Linked DNA regions of Homo sapiens: region 2 is linked to region 1. The links are contacts of gene promoters, found by promoter capture Hi-C in blood cells and fetal thymus (Javierre and others, 2016). All regions are on one chromosome and are shown on one strand. The core of a region is centred on a gene start or on the middle of the fragment in contact, and the rest is flanking DNA. Distances in the headings are between cores, read along the strand shown. Region 1 holds the start of AURKA (aurora kinase A). Region 2 overlaps FAM217B (family with sequence similarity 217 member B).

Region 1 (6,996 bases), core at 1-2,500:
AAATCACAAGTGGGTAGTCTGGCAAAGAAAAGTTGATGAGAGATTCTACTGTTAACGTTGGGTTAATATGACTCGAATAATTTCCGTATGCTAGCTCAATGCTTTACATGCACATCCTGTTTACCCTGCAGTAATCTGTTAATTCGTCTTATGTGAATTTAACTCTTAGTCCTAATAAGGTACCTGGAAGGATGGAGGGAAGCCATTTTTGGTTCCCCTACACCACTGTTCTATCCGGTCTCTTCACTTCTGCTGAGCACATCCCGGGTGTACATACACACACACACACACACATATGTGTGTGTATATATATGTATATGTGTGTGTGTGTGTATATATATATATATTTTAAGTGGCCCACCCCTAACTTCTCAACTCCCACAGAACGTTCACTCGCCAGGTAAACAGAAGCCTAATTATCCCCAATTTGCAGGTGAGCACACGAGGACAAGAACCCGATCCAGGACCGGATACATCGCAGTTGGAAAGGCTAGAACACAGATGCCCCCTCACTATATGCGCCGCGACCATCTGGATGCAGAGGCGAACTAAGGACTGGGTGGGAATGGAAGCGAGGCCCTTCGAGAAGAGGAAGGGGTGCAGGCCAAGCCGGGCAACTTAGGAAACGCAAAGTAGAGGCGCATGCCACCTTGCTAACTCTCGACTCTTCCAGTCTCGCCCCAGTCGTTTCTGTGGTTTTCTCTAAATGCCCCAGCCGACCGCACCAGCTACTCTCCCCGTGTCCCAGTACCAGCTGGTCCGGTTCTCTTGGTATCCCGCTCTCTCCTGGAAAAATGGAGGCGCGAATCCTGCCCAATCTACCGCTCCGAGCGCACGTTCACTGCGCACGCTGAAAGGGCGCCAAGCCGACCGCTGCGCTATCGATCGGTCCCACTCTCTCTTGCTTTTCTCGCCATCTTACTTACTGGCACGTTCAAAGGTTAGTTCACCTCCTTGGACTTTATCTCCAATGCGTCAAGCTTGACGTCAAGGGGCTGTTGCTTCACCGATAAATGGCCGACCGCGGAGAGCACCCTGGGGCTGGGACTGCCACAGGTCTGGCTGGCCGTTGGCTCCACCACTTCCGGGTTCTTAGGGAGCAAGTGCGCCTGCGCGCGGTGTGCGCCCTTAAACGCGACTCAAGGCGTCGGGTTTGTTGTCAACCAATCACAAGGCAGCCTCGCTCGAGCGCAGGCCAATCGGCTTTCTAGCTAGAGGGTTTAACTCCTATTTAAAAAGAAGAACCTTTGAATTCTAACGGCTGAGCTCTTGGAAGACTTGGGTCCTTGGGTCGCAGGTGGGAGCCGACGGGTGGGTAGACCGTGGGGGATATCTCAGTGGCGGACGAGGACGGCGGGGACAAGGGGCGGCTGGTCGGAGTGGCGGAGCGTCAAGTCCCCTGTCGGTTCCTCCGTCCCTGAGTGTCCTTGGCGCTGCCTTGTGCCCGCCCAGCGCCTTTGCATCCGCTCCTGGGCACCGAGGCGCCCTGTAGGATACTGCTTGTTACTTATTACAGCTAGAGGTACAAGGGGTTTGTTGAGTGGTGTTGACATGCGCGGGAGGGGTGGGTGGGCTTCAGATTGGATTTTGTCCTCCGAGATCACCTGGGTAAGAAAAGCACAGAAGGTCTCTGCTGTGTTGGAGTTCACGTTCTAGTGGGTGGGGAGACAGACGGTAAGCGTACGGAGAACTTGCAGCTGGGGTGGGTGTTACAGAGGAAAAGCAGGAGTGCGGTTTAACGGGGGCCGCTTTAGATAGAATAGCCTAAGAAGGCCCTTGTCCTGGCTGGATGAGTGGGTGAATTGATGAATGAGAACCTCCTTGCAGAGGCCTTCCCGGTCCGTACTTCTCAGACCGTAGACCTTGGAGCAGTTGTACCGGGATAACTTGCAGTGCTTGTTAAACATATAGCTCCACCGAGAGCCCGGTAAATCAGAATCTCTGAGGGGTAGGACCCAGGTGTCTAGTTATTAACAAACTCTCCAGATGATTCTTAGGTTTCATTGAGAACTAGGGATGCAGACCGGTGCATACAAATCGTCTGGGGACGTTAAAATGCAGAATCTGTTTTTTTAGACCTGGGGTTAGGCCTCAGAGTCTCCATTTCTAAGAACCATCCGGCTGAGGTAGACGTAGCCACTGTCCTTAACTCTCGTAATGTCTCTTCCTCTTCCGTAACCTTCCTTGTCCCTTGAATTAAACGTTTTTCAGCAACCTACTCAGTTCGTCCTTCCCTTCATCTCTGCAGACATGCACAGGTCTGAGGGAGGAAGGAATAAACCGTATAAACCTCCTGCGCTATTAGCCTAACAGCTTTTCTATTCAAAATAGTAGGACTTCTGGTTTGAACTGAATGGATCCTGTGAAAGTCATCTGGTTCTTCAATCTGGTTGCAGATTAGAGTCACCTGAAGGGCAGTCTCCTTGGCGTTGTCTCCAGAATTCTGGATTAGAATCTTATTCCATTCTGCTTGTTATTCAATTTCCCTAGAAAGAAAGGTAGAATAAATTGGAGCAAATGCCTGTAGCTTCTGTCAGAAGAATGTTGAATAAATGTTGTTAGGCCTATGTGATCTCATTAGACTGCTACTTAGAATTGTAAGGGAAGTAAAGCATTAGAGCATGTGTGAAATTAAATATTTGATTAACACAAGTGTGCATTTCCTTGTTGCTGTTTATCAACTTTTACTTACCCACTGTTTTTTTATAAGGGCTGCAGCCTGTAGTCTGGGCCTGGCTTCATCATGGAATTATTTGCTTAATTGTAAAATGGTAATCTTAATTTTTTTTTTTGAGACAGGGTCTCACTCCATTGCCCAGGCCAGAGTGCGGGGATATTTGATAAGAAACTTCAGTGAAGGCCGGGCGCGGTGGCTCATGCCCGTAATCCCAGCATTTTCGGAGGCCGAGGTGGGTGGATCACCTGAGGTCGGGAGTTCCAGACCAGCCCTACCAACATAGAGAAACCCTGTCTCTACTAAAAATACAAAATCAGCTGGGCGTGGTGGTGCATGTCTGTAATCCCAGCTACTCTGGAGGCTGAGGCAGGAGAATTGCTTGAACCCAGGAGGTGGAGGTTGCGGGTGAGCCGAGATTGCGCCATTGCACTCCAGCCTGGGCAACAAGAGCAAACTCTATCTCAAAAAAAAAAAAAAAGAAACCTCAGTGAAATGAAAGACTGAACTACACACCTGGGGGAAAAGCGTAATAAAGGGAGCAAGAAGTGCAAATGCTTATGGCAGGGGACTTATTTGCAGAAAGAAAGCCTTGTGTGGCTGGTACACGGTTGACAAGAAGAGGAGATGAAGTCAGAGAGGTAGTTAGGGTCCATGTTCTGTGAGACTTCAATAGGCCTGTCTATGCAGGTTAGGAGTTTGCATTGTTTTGATTGAGTTGGGAGCCATGGGGGTCTTCTGAACTGAGGATCAACACATCTGATTTGTTAATGAGATTGCCGGCCTCAGTGTTAAGAATGGACCATGACAGGGTAAGGGTGGAAGTGGGGAGGCCATTGGGAGGCTGTTGGAAAAAACTCAAGGGAGAGAGAATAATGGTTTGACCAGGTGGTAGTAGTAGAGGTGGTGAGCAGTGATCTTGAAGGCAGAGCCTACAGAATATGCTGGTGGATTAAATGAAGGGTTTGCGAGAGAGAACCTCGTAAAGGGTTATTATGCCAAGGCTTTTGGCCTGAGCAACTGACAGGATGGGTTTGCCATGCACTGAGATGAGGATGTCTAGAGACTAGATTTGGGGAGGTGAGAGTGGGGAGAGATTAGGACTTCTGTTTGGGACATGTTAGAATGGAGATGCCGCTCAGATAATCAGGTGCAGATGTTGCATAGAAAGTAGAAAATGTAGATCAAGAGTTCAGGGGAGAGGTCTGGGCTGAAGAATGAATATTTGGGAGTCCTCAGCCTGTAGATGGTACTGAAAGCAAAGAGACTGGATGTACTCGGCTAGGGAGTAATTGGAGATGGAGAAGTCATTCTAGGCCTGAGCTCAGGGCACACCCATGAACAGGGAGGTGAGAAGTGGAGAAGGGAAGAGGTTCAGTTTTGGATATGTTAGGATTGAGGTGCCTGGCAGACATTTTTGGGAGATCCTGGGCAAATCCTTGGATATCCAAGTCTGACAGTCCAAGGAGAGACTAGGGCAGAAGACGCACTTTGAGTGGTCCTCATGAAGGCATTTAGAGCTGAGGCACTGGGTGATATGGATCCCTGGTGAAGGTGTAGATGGAGAAGTGGAGGGTCCAGGGACTCGTTCTTGAGTCACCCCAGACCCTTGATCTGGCAAAAATGAGACTGACCCAGCAAGGAGGGAAAGACAGGACGACTAGGTGGTAGATAAACCTGGAAGTGAAGTGAAGAAAAAAGTGTAAGATGTGATCAACCTTGTCAGATTCTGCTGAGGATGCAAGTACGGGGAAGGTGGAATTGACCCTTGGGTTTGGCAGCAGTAGGTGTCAGCCATGAGCCTGACAATGTGGTGGAGACAAAAAAGCCAGGTGGGGATGGGCTCAGGGGAGGGGAGAGGAGCAGTAGAGGTGGCAAGTGTGGACGGTTCTTCTGGAGCTTTGCTGTTGGAGAGGAGGGGGTCATTGTTAGCAACGATAATAGAATAAAGAGGACTTTTATTTTATTTTATTGTTTTGAGACGAAGTCTCGCTCTTTTCCCATAGGCTGGAGTGCAATGGTGTGATCTCAGCTCACTGCAACCTCTGCTTCCTGGGTTTAAGTGATTCTCCTGCCTCAGCCTCCCGAGTAGCTGGGATTACAGGTGACTGCCACCACGCTCAGCTAAGTTTTGTATTTTTAGTAGAGACGGGGTTTCACCATGTTGGCCAGGCTGGTCTCGAACTCTTGACCTCAGGTGATCCGCCCACCTCGGCCTCCCAAAATGCTGGGATTACAGGTGTAAGCCACCATGCCCGGCCTAAAGAGGACTTTTTTAAGGTAGCAGGTATGCCAGTAGGCTGCACAGGGATGGAAGTGATCCATTAGAGGAGAGATGATGGAGCAGCAAGACCATCAGGAGTGAAGACTCCGTGACAGAGGATGGGACGCAGTGCCCAAGGGGAGGTTGGCCTTGCAGGGAAAGCACATGCCTGTCCCTCCCTCATTAGCTTCATTTGGACAAAACATGTAAAATCCGGTGTGTTGTGGAGGCCTTTTGATTGGGGAACTGTAACGCTGCCTATCGAGCAACAGCACTTTAAGCAGGTGGCTTTGTTCAAATTAAAGGTTCTTCTTTTTCTTTTCAGGCATCATGGACCGATCTAAAGAAAACTGCATTTCAGGACCTGTTAAGGTAAATTGAATAATCTGTAATCTCATTCACATTTATAAACCCACATGGAGGTTGGTCTTGTCGGGAATTCTTTCCGCCTTTACTTTGGATTTAAATTTAGATCCCTTACTGTGATCCTGGATATGAATTAGTCACTTTTCTCGTGTTCAGTAACATTTTGCTGCTTCTTAGAGTAGCTTTTTTGTTCTGCTTTGTCTTATAATCGGCTGCTTAAGTTTCTATATCCCTCCACTGTATGCAGGATAATAGTAATAATGCATCTGGCAGGAGTTCAAAACTTTTAAAATTGGCCATAAATATAAAATAATTAGAAAAAGGCTACCTTGAATTACTGTATTTGATTCTAAGTTCCTATGATAACGGCCATTTAAAAAATTGCTCTATATTTAAAATGTTTCTTTTTATTTGTCTTTGTCTGAATGCCTGCTGCGTTGTGGACAGTGTGCTAATTTCAGGAGTAACTGACTTTGTATTTGGAAGTCTTAACACCCTCTCTTTGTAGAGCACTCATACCGTTGAGCTGGGGATGGACTTTGAGGCTTTCATTTCTAGCACTTGTCCCTCACTTACAATGAGCTGTTGAAGCTGAAGGAAATCTCATCCCTCCTACCCCTTTTAGTTTGATTAGCTGAGGGTGTTAGAGTTAACTTAACAATTTAAGGTTGTAATACAGTACTTACAGGCGTATAAATAATACATTTCAAGGCTGGGCGCGGTGGCTCACGCCTGTAATCCCAGCACTTTGGGAGACCAAGGAGAGTGGATCACAAGGTCAGGAGTTCAAGACCGGCCTGGCCAAGATGGTGAAACCCTGTTTCTACTAAAAATACAAAAAATTAGCCAGGCGTGGTGGCAGGCGCCTGTCGTCCCAGCTGCTTGGGAGGCTGAGGCAGAGAATTGCTTGAACCTGGGAGGCAGAGGTTGCAGTGAGCCGAGATCATGCCACTGCACTCCAGTCTGGGTGACAGAGCAAGACTCCATCTCAAAAATAATAATAATAATACATTTTAGTAGTAACTTTGTGAAGTGTCTACATTTGTTTCCTCTTTGTCAGTTTTTTGCTCAATTCCATTTTGTCAATACTTGGAAAATGAAACATTGGTTAATCAATAGTACAGTAATAAGCTTATTGTGGAAAATCTTCGATATATGAAAACTTAGACTCTTCTAAAACTTCATGAAGATAATACCACTGTTGAACGTTTTGACGTATTTTTTTTTGGTCTTTTTCTTAAACGTATATTATCAAAGAAATTTCAATGGAACTGAGATTTTGGCATAAAGTTTTTGTATCATAGCTTTTTGCCAAATAGCAATGTAGTGTCTATTTCCAAATTATTGAGAAATTTTAGAAAGTGTCTCCTTCATTAATGGATATTTGTTAATAAAGCATGATTTTTAGGGGTGAGGAATTGGAGGGGATAGAAGGTATCATTCAGGTATTCTTAGCCACATACTAACTATCCTCTGGAGGTACTGATTAAAATACCTTTTCACCTTCCATCTCTTATCAGTGACATTCATTATTTTGCTATACTAGAGAACAAACTTTGTGAAATTCTCAATATATTCATCTTTTGCTTTCATGAATGCCAGAAAGTTTATTTTCTCTTCCATTCTAGGCTACAGCTCCAGTTGGAGGTCCAAAACGTGTTCTCGTGACTCAGCAATTTCCTTGTCAGAATCC
Region 2 (7,094 bases), core at 3,235-5,734, 3.6 Mb before region 1:
TACATGTACATAAATAATACATACTGCTTCTGAATTACCTTAAAATACAGTACCACCAAGAGTTATATTTCTATGTAACTACTCCATAAGTGAGCATAAAGGAATGAGGAAGTAGACGATATCCATATCAGATAAAGTAGAAAGTCTTATGTCCTTCTGAAAAGCAACACAGTAGGCCCAAGAACAACTACAAACCATTTTCCTTTTAGCTAGGAGGTATATGGCAAGACCAATGATATTCTCTTCCCCATCCTTTTTGTCACAGGGTATGAAGTCTATCCTATTCAAGTTAGTTACAAGTCTTCAGCCCATTTAGTCATCTAAGAAGTTGAGAAAGTCTAAACCTAAGTAATCACAGCAAATACTGCAAATACTGATATACTTTTAGTTCATTTTTGTACTTTTTTACATTTTTTCCATTAGATAATTCTAAGCCTAAAATATTTTTCTTTTTCTTTTTCTTTTTCTTTTTTTTTTTAAAGAAACTTGGATTGTTTTAATTGGTTTAAATGCAGGGTATATGTAAACAACTCCCCAGAAATGAGAGGCACTTCTCGGAAATACAATAACCCATGTCACTAGACTAGCAAAACACTCAGTGCTTTTGACTTGATGAATTGAATGAGTTCATGATTCAACTTTCTAATGTTGTCTACTTGAAAAATAGCAAGATTCTTATCTGCAGCATTTAATGCATTAAGATGTATTAGATAGGCATATCAGATATCATAAAATTAAAATTGTGCTTATGTTAATTCTGTAATAGACCTAACTTTAAAACACCTCATGTTATTCACTAGGAGCTATGATCTAGTCGTGACAATATTGGTTAAAATAGTCAATCTGAGGCAGAAAGTAAACAAGCAAAGTCACTTTTGCAGGCTTTTTAAACTGTATAACACATGAAATTATGACTATTCCCCAGATTATGCAACCAGCTTCAATTTAAAAAGCTGGGAACAAATATTATGAGGCGTTACTTCTCAATTTCTTTCTTTTTCTTTTTTTTTTGAAACGGAGTTTCCCTCTTGTTGCCCAGGCTGGAGTGCAATGGCACGATCTTGGCTCACCACAACCTCCGCCTCCCGGGTTCAAGAGATTCTCGTCTCAAACTTCCGAGTAGCTGGGATTACAGGCATGCACCACCACACCCGGCTAATTTTGTATTTTTAGTGGAGACAGGGTTTCTCCATGTTGGTCAGGCTGGTCTTGAACTCCCGACCTCAGGTGATCCGCCTGCCTCGGCCTCCCAAAGTGCTGGGATTACAGGCGTGAGCCACCACGCCCAGCCACCTCTAAATTTCTTAATCACGATTGTTTTCAGCTCAGACATACACAAGGCAAGTAGAATTACTAATAAATCACTTTACCCTCAACCATTCAAGGTCTCTAAGAGCATGCACATGGATACATGACGGGGAAAGGCAGCAACTCAGCATAAACACTTTAGTATTAACATAAGGAGTATATATACATATACACATATGTATAGAATATCTTGCTTTTGAATATCTATGGGCCATGAAACTTCATAGAGAGCTGCATAAAAATCTAGCAGAGAAAGGATCATAAGTGAAGTGCCAGCCATGGATAACAGACTAATCTGTGCTCACAAAAAAGGGCAGGCAAGGAACACACAGACATCACTCAGGAACTACAGGAAAACTAAGCGTAGTGCTGTTTTCCAAATATAAAACATATACTAAGTACAAAAGTTATAGTAAATTTGAGGACTACGGAAGTAATACTTACTATATGTACATCTTTTGTTCACATAAAAAGCTTAAAGTAAGATCTTAGCATAAAAGTATGCTTTCTCCAGTAGGATGGTGTGAGAGGGAAAGAATGTAAGAAGGAACTTGTACAAGTCTGAAAATTAAGTCTTGAAAGTAAAAGGCTACCATAAAAAATATTATGTCATTTGGTATGATCAAAATCAGATTTTAAAAGACCTTAAAATATAACCCTTGCACATTGTTTTTTATAATTATATACGTATAATTAGAGCTACATAATCTTGTCTTTATGCTGTTTTTGATATTTTTTCAGACATTTACTGCTGTCTGAAAAGTTTACAAGCTATTATATGTTCCCAAATGAAAAATGCCAAGTTTTTCATTTGCCCCCAAGGTGAAAAAATTGAAACCTCTACGTCAAAAACAAATACAGTAATTGTTTAAAGGGATAAAATCAACTATAATGACATGGGCCGTATTAAAATACACTGCGCAAATATGAACAGAAAACTCACAGCACAACTATAGGAACAAGAAGATGTTATTTAACTGCAGTGAAATAAGAAGGCTTGGAGAGAGTTGGGAAGCCTGAAGACCAGATAAGCGAGTTTAGAATTCATTCAGCAACCTTACTCATATTCCACTCTCCCGCCCCTCACCCCAAGCAAAATAATAAAATCCTGCTCTTGCAAACTGAAACAGATCATTATTTTTGACTAAGGACCACAGGGTGTGGAACCCAAATCAGTAACTTTGTAACTATTACACTGAATGTAGGTCCATGTGTTTTGATCCTTTTACAGGCCCTTCCTTTACAAATTGTAAAGAGTGATTTCCCTGGGGTGCCTCTCTGGAGAAGCTTTACATGCCAGCAATTCCAGAATGTCAAATATTTCATTCTCAGCCCCACCAAACAGCAGTAATCATGCTAAGCCCATTGACTTTGGAAAATTCTGCAAGTTATTTTAACCTCAGTTCGGAGAACTCAAAAGTAGGTTTTACCACCACCTCTAAGTTTAAAATGCCCCTCAAAAAAGAAAAAAAAAACCATGTCAGAGAAAATGTATTAAAGTACTAGATTCCACTGTCTCTCTAGAAAGCAACCAGCTTAGTGAGAAATGACTACTCAAAATACAAACTCACTACTCCCTGACTTGAGGAAGAACTAAAGCTTCTCCTAAGGGTAAAATGAACAGAAATTTTGCTTGAGGAGTTTATAAAAAAGTAAGCGAGGGAGTGGGCAAGAAGGACCTTATTTTAAACATTTAGGATTCCACACCATTTGAAACAGTCTGCACTATTTCATATACTTACGTGCATGTGAAAATGGGGAGGTAACACCACTAGCTGCTCTACACAGACCGGCTACTGTAGCTGAGGTTTCACTGACACTTTCCCTGGAGAGGTGCCATTTTATTCCTTTATATGGCACATATTTTACATAATTTTTATCTAAAGGGCTCTCATTTGCCTAAGACTGACAATACAAAGAAAGGCTTATTGAAAGACACTTCCCTTTGAAAATAACCCCACTCAGGGTAGAAATAAAGGTGGACAAAAATGCCAGTCAACTACTTAAATGTCAGTATTTGTAAAATTCCTTAAAATTCACAGTATTTTGACTTTTGGAAGCGCTCTAACATTGAGGTACCTGCAGGTCTTGGCAATTCAGCATTTTAGATATTTATTTTAGTTTATATGTGTTTTGCTTTACTCCGTTTGTTTTCAGTTTTTTCTCACTCGATACAGTGGCATGACCACAGCTCTCTGCCTTTCCCTTTTTCCTAGGATGTGCATGTGCTTGTGTTTTGGAGGCCTTACAGGAATCTGCTGAGTCCAGAATCACAGCTGCCTGTTTGGGAACTCGAATGTGACCGCTGGTTTCCACCTTAGAGCTGCTTCCACTGCCGGACAGATCCCAGCGCTGCAGCTTCGTACTCTTACTTGATTTCTTTTTCTTTTCTTCTGTCCTCATTTCAAGGGTTTGCCTCTGAGAACAAAACCTGGTACCACCAAGCACATCAATGGGTCTAGGGGAAGTCTCAAATGCATAATGTGATGGGTGGATTTCTTCATGGTGAAAAGCTTTCTTTCGGGAAGGGCCTGACTTTGAAGCCCCTTCCTGGTGAGGTAGTGGCTTGGACAGAGCACTAGCAATTAGCTTACTTCTCCCAGGGCTTTTCAGTGCCCCTGAGGTCCCAGGGGCAGTGGGGGGCCTTGCTTTGCCCCCCTTTGCTTTTTCACACTGTACAGTCTGGACTTGCAGCCACTCAAGCTGAATAAGTCTATCGATATACTTCCCAAGAAGTCCTCCCACTCGGGGCACGGCTTCCGTTTTGTTCTCTGCGTTCAGAAGCAGGGCCATATCTCGTAGGTCCCAGGAGCTGAAAGGGGATGGAAGGAAATTAGGATAATAGTATTCAGGTTTTGTATGGCCCTGACCAGGGTGAAGATCAAAGTAAACTGGATCAATTTCTTCAGCTCGAAGATTGAGATCTGGAGGTGTGAGGGGAGAAGGAGGAATGGGAATTCTTTCCGAATCAGAGAGATCACTTGCACTGTCCTCATCAGCATTCTCTTTAATAATTTTCATTGACTGAAAATCAAGAAACAGTTTATTCCCTGAGGCCCCCTGACACCTGGAACCGAGTGGATTCCTTTTGCGTCTTGCTTCCGGGGAAATGCTTTCTTTAAGTTTTTCTTCAGTAGGCTGGGTGACAGCTGTGAGGCTGCTTCTCGGCTGGGAAGAAGCGTGGGGTACTTGGGATTTACTCTGCCTTTTTCCTGAAGAATTCTTTGAATGTTGCACTTTATTCCAAGATGGGCCAGCATTCATATTGCTGTGAGAAAATAAAACTGCAATTCTTACCACATATGACAAAAAATGGTCTGGCTATAATTAAACAAACAAAAAGAATCTTCTAGTTGTACTTTTTTTTGTCTCAGCTATTAGTAGGCATTAGAAAATGTCAGCTTCCAAACTCCTTAAAGCATAAGTAATTTTACAGAACATTTTCCCATATAATACTCTATTTGAGATACATTATATAATGCATGTGACAAAAGAGAATGCACAGTTTCCATTTTATATCAAATATTAGCATTTAGGAAAAACATTAACATTTCTCAAAGTGCTTGTTTCATACTTTCGTGTGTACTTTAAAAAAAAAACATTAGTTTGGAAAAAATCAGTCGTAGAACTCTGGAATTGTTACCATCAAAAGCATTTAATAACATTCAGAAGTAAAAACAGTTTTATTTTATACACCTATTTTAAATTAAGTGTAAATATCAAATAAACATGCAAGTTTTGCAGTTTAATCACTGATTGGTGGCGATTCTGAGCTGAGTGAAATTTTAATATATAAAAGTATTGCACATACAAACCTGTACCTTAAATCAAAAGCTTGTTACAATGTTTTCAAACAGAAAACACATTTGGGAAAATTGTGTTTAAAGAACAGAAATAAAATCATATGGTGCCCTGTAACACATATGAATGAAAACACAGGGTCTTAGTGTTACCTTGTGAATAGCAGGTAAAGGGAATAATGAATACTGTGTGCATTATGAGTATAGAAACTAATTCTCTCTGGCATAATTTATTCTGATGCTGAATCTCACATCAGAGTTGAAAATATCCTCTTTTCAATTTATTTACCAAGAACGTGGCATTTAAGATTAATAATACTTCTCTGTAATATAAGTCAGATAGAATGAATAGAAATGGGTGGTAAACATGCTTTCTGGAAACTTCAGAGGTTCATTTGCCCAGTGGTTTCAAACAACCTAAGCAACTATTTGAATACGTGCTACATTTTAATTAATAAATATGCAGGACATTAAATCATTGCCAATAGTACAACGTGTGCTCAATAAATGTTGAATAAATGAAGAAATGAAGGAATCTCCATTATTCAGAATTCATAACACTGTTAAAACATTTTGTTCCTGCCTGTCAGTATGCATCCATAAAAATTAATTATTGTCACTATCCTTTTATATAAAAGGAAACTAACATAGAAAAGTGATTAAAGGACTTACTCAAAATTATAATTCTGCTAACAACTGCCAGAATTATGACCGTTGGAATCCTTATCCACTATTATGCTTAAACCACTTTTCTATTCATTTCTGCTAGAAAAAAATTATAAATGTATATTTCTTATCTATAGACATACTTTTTTCCCCACTCCACATATTCAATCTGGACAACAGAGATAATGAGTCTTTTGCAAGATAAAGCAATTATACTAAAACTATTTACCTGCTTTTCTGATGAGATTCATTCACCCTATTCCTCTTCTTGAAAAAATCACGTGGCTGATCATCATCTCGGGTTTGATGGACTGTCTAAAAACAGGGATGCAGTAATAAACACTGTGAACATGTACACAAGAAACAAGCAAGCAAACAAACAAAAATCCCAGAATAAATCTAAGTCAGATTTTTCTTCTAAGTTTACATTACCTTTCCTGTAGTGCTCAAAATATTCTTGCTCAATCTGCTGGAAGATGATGACAGCTGGGGAGGTGACTTCTTTATTCCTCTTATATTTGGAAAGGTCTCCTCACCACCGGAACTAGAAGCAACAGAATACTGTCAGTAACTATTGATTGCAAATGGTCCTACCACCAGTATCGGGTTGGTTTTTCACTTGTTTTTTAATACTTGTATAATATTGAAATATTAAGGCTGTGATCATATAGTGGTTTGCACTCTAGGTTATGAAATACTGGGGAAGGGAGACATTGTCTTATGCTTACAGCTTTGTCTTTTCTGCTTATTACAGTAGATATTAGAGACAGGATCACAGGATCACACTACTATAAATACTGTGAATGGATTCCATCTCTCTCTCTCTCTCCCTGTTCACACACAGGTATAATCTTCCTTGGAAATAATATGTTGAAGAAATCTGGAAGGCTAAATAAGGTCAGGTCTTATTACAGCGTTCAATCATTGCATTGCCCAATCATTCATTCATGCAACAAATAATTACAGGAGTACCCAGAAAAATGGCAATGATTATGCACGTCCCTGTTCAGAAGGAGCTTAAACTCTAGGAGGAACGTTCCCATTCAATTTTTCGGCCTTCTCTATCACATCAATCCATTATAAGACTTTCCATATATTCATACATATTACATATTATATATCATCTCTTTATGAAGCATTGTTGACCTATACCACATATTGCTGTTATTCCCCTCTCATTTTGAGTGGCCTATTAAAAGTGCACTGAATGGAAATTGGATACTTCTCTTTCCCGTATCACCTGTCTCTGTAAAATAAAAGAGATGATTATAGAAGATTTTTATTTTCTTCCTGAAACTTTCCTGTATTTTTCCCACATTA

What was found. The method cuts DNA at HindIII sites, captures the fragments that hold promoters and counts their contacts. A CHiCAGO score of 5 or more calls a contact.
Region 2: a fragment that was not itself captured here is called in contact with the fragment with the promoter of AURKA in region 1 in 4 of 17 cell types (non-activated CD4 T cells, M0 macrophages, total CD8 T cells and 1 more); the score reaches 12.6 in non-activated CD4 T cells.

Annotation. Positions count from the first base shown.
Region 1 is chr20:56,386,469-56,393,464 of GRCh38, reverse strand. It overlaps AURKA (aurora kinase A), which reads left to right and starts at 1,250. Exons shown (of 9, transcript NM_198437.3): 1 at 1,250-1,297; 2 at 5,263-5,309; 3 at 6,932-6,996. The coding sequence starts at 5,268. It overlaps CSTF1 (cleavage stimulation factor subunit 1), which reads right to left and starts at 820. Exons shown (of 6, transcript NM_001324.3): 1 at 752-820. RefSeq lists enhancers at 865-1,104, 6,180-6,996. The HindIII fragment of the contact is 5,454 bases long and covers 983-6,436 here.
Region 2 is chr20:59,941,422-59,948,515 of GRCh38, reverse strand. It overlaps FAM217B (family with sequence similarity 217 member B), which reads right to left. Exons shown (of 4, transcript NM_022106.3): 2 at 6,207-6,318; 3 at 6,004-6,089; 4 at 1-4,576. The coding sequence starts at 4,572. The coding sequence ends at 3,421. Among named protein-coding and RNA genes, the nearest start is that of FAM217B, 4.6 kb to the right of the region's middle. The HindIII fragment of the contact is 1,321 bases long and covers 3,824-5,144 here.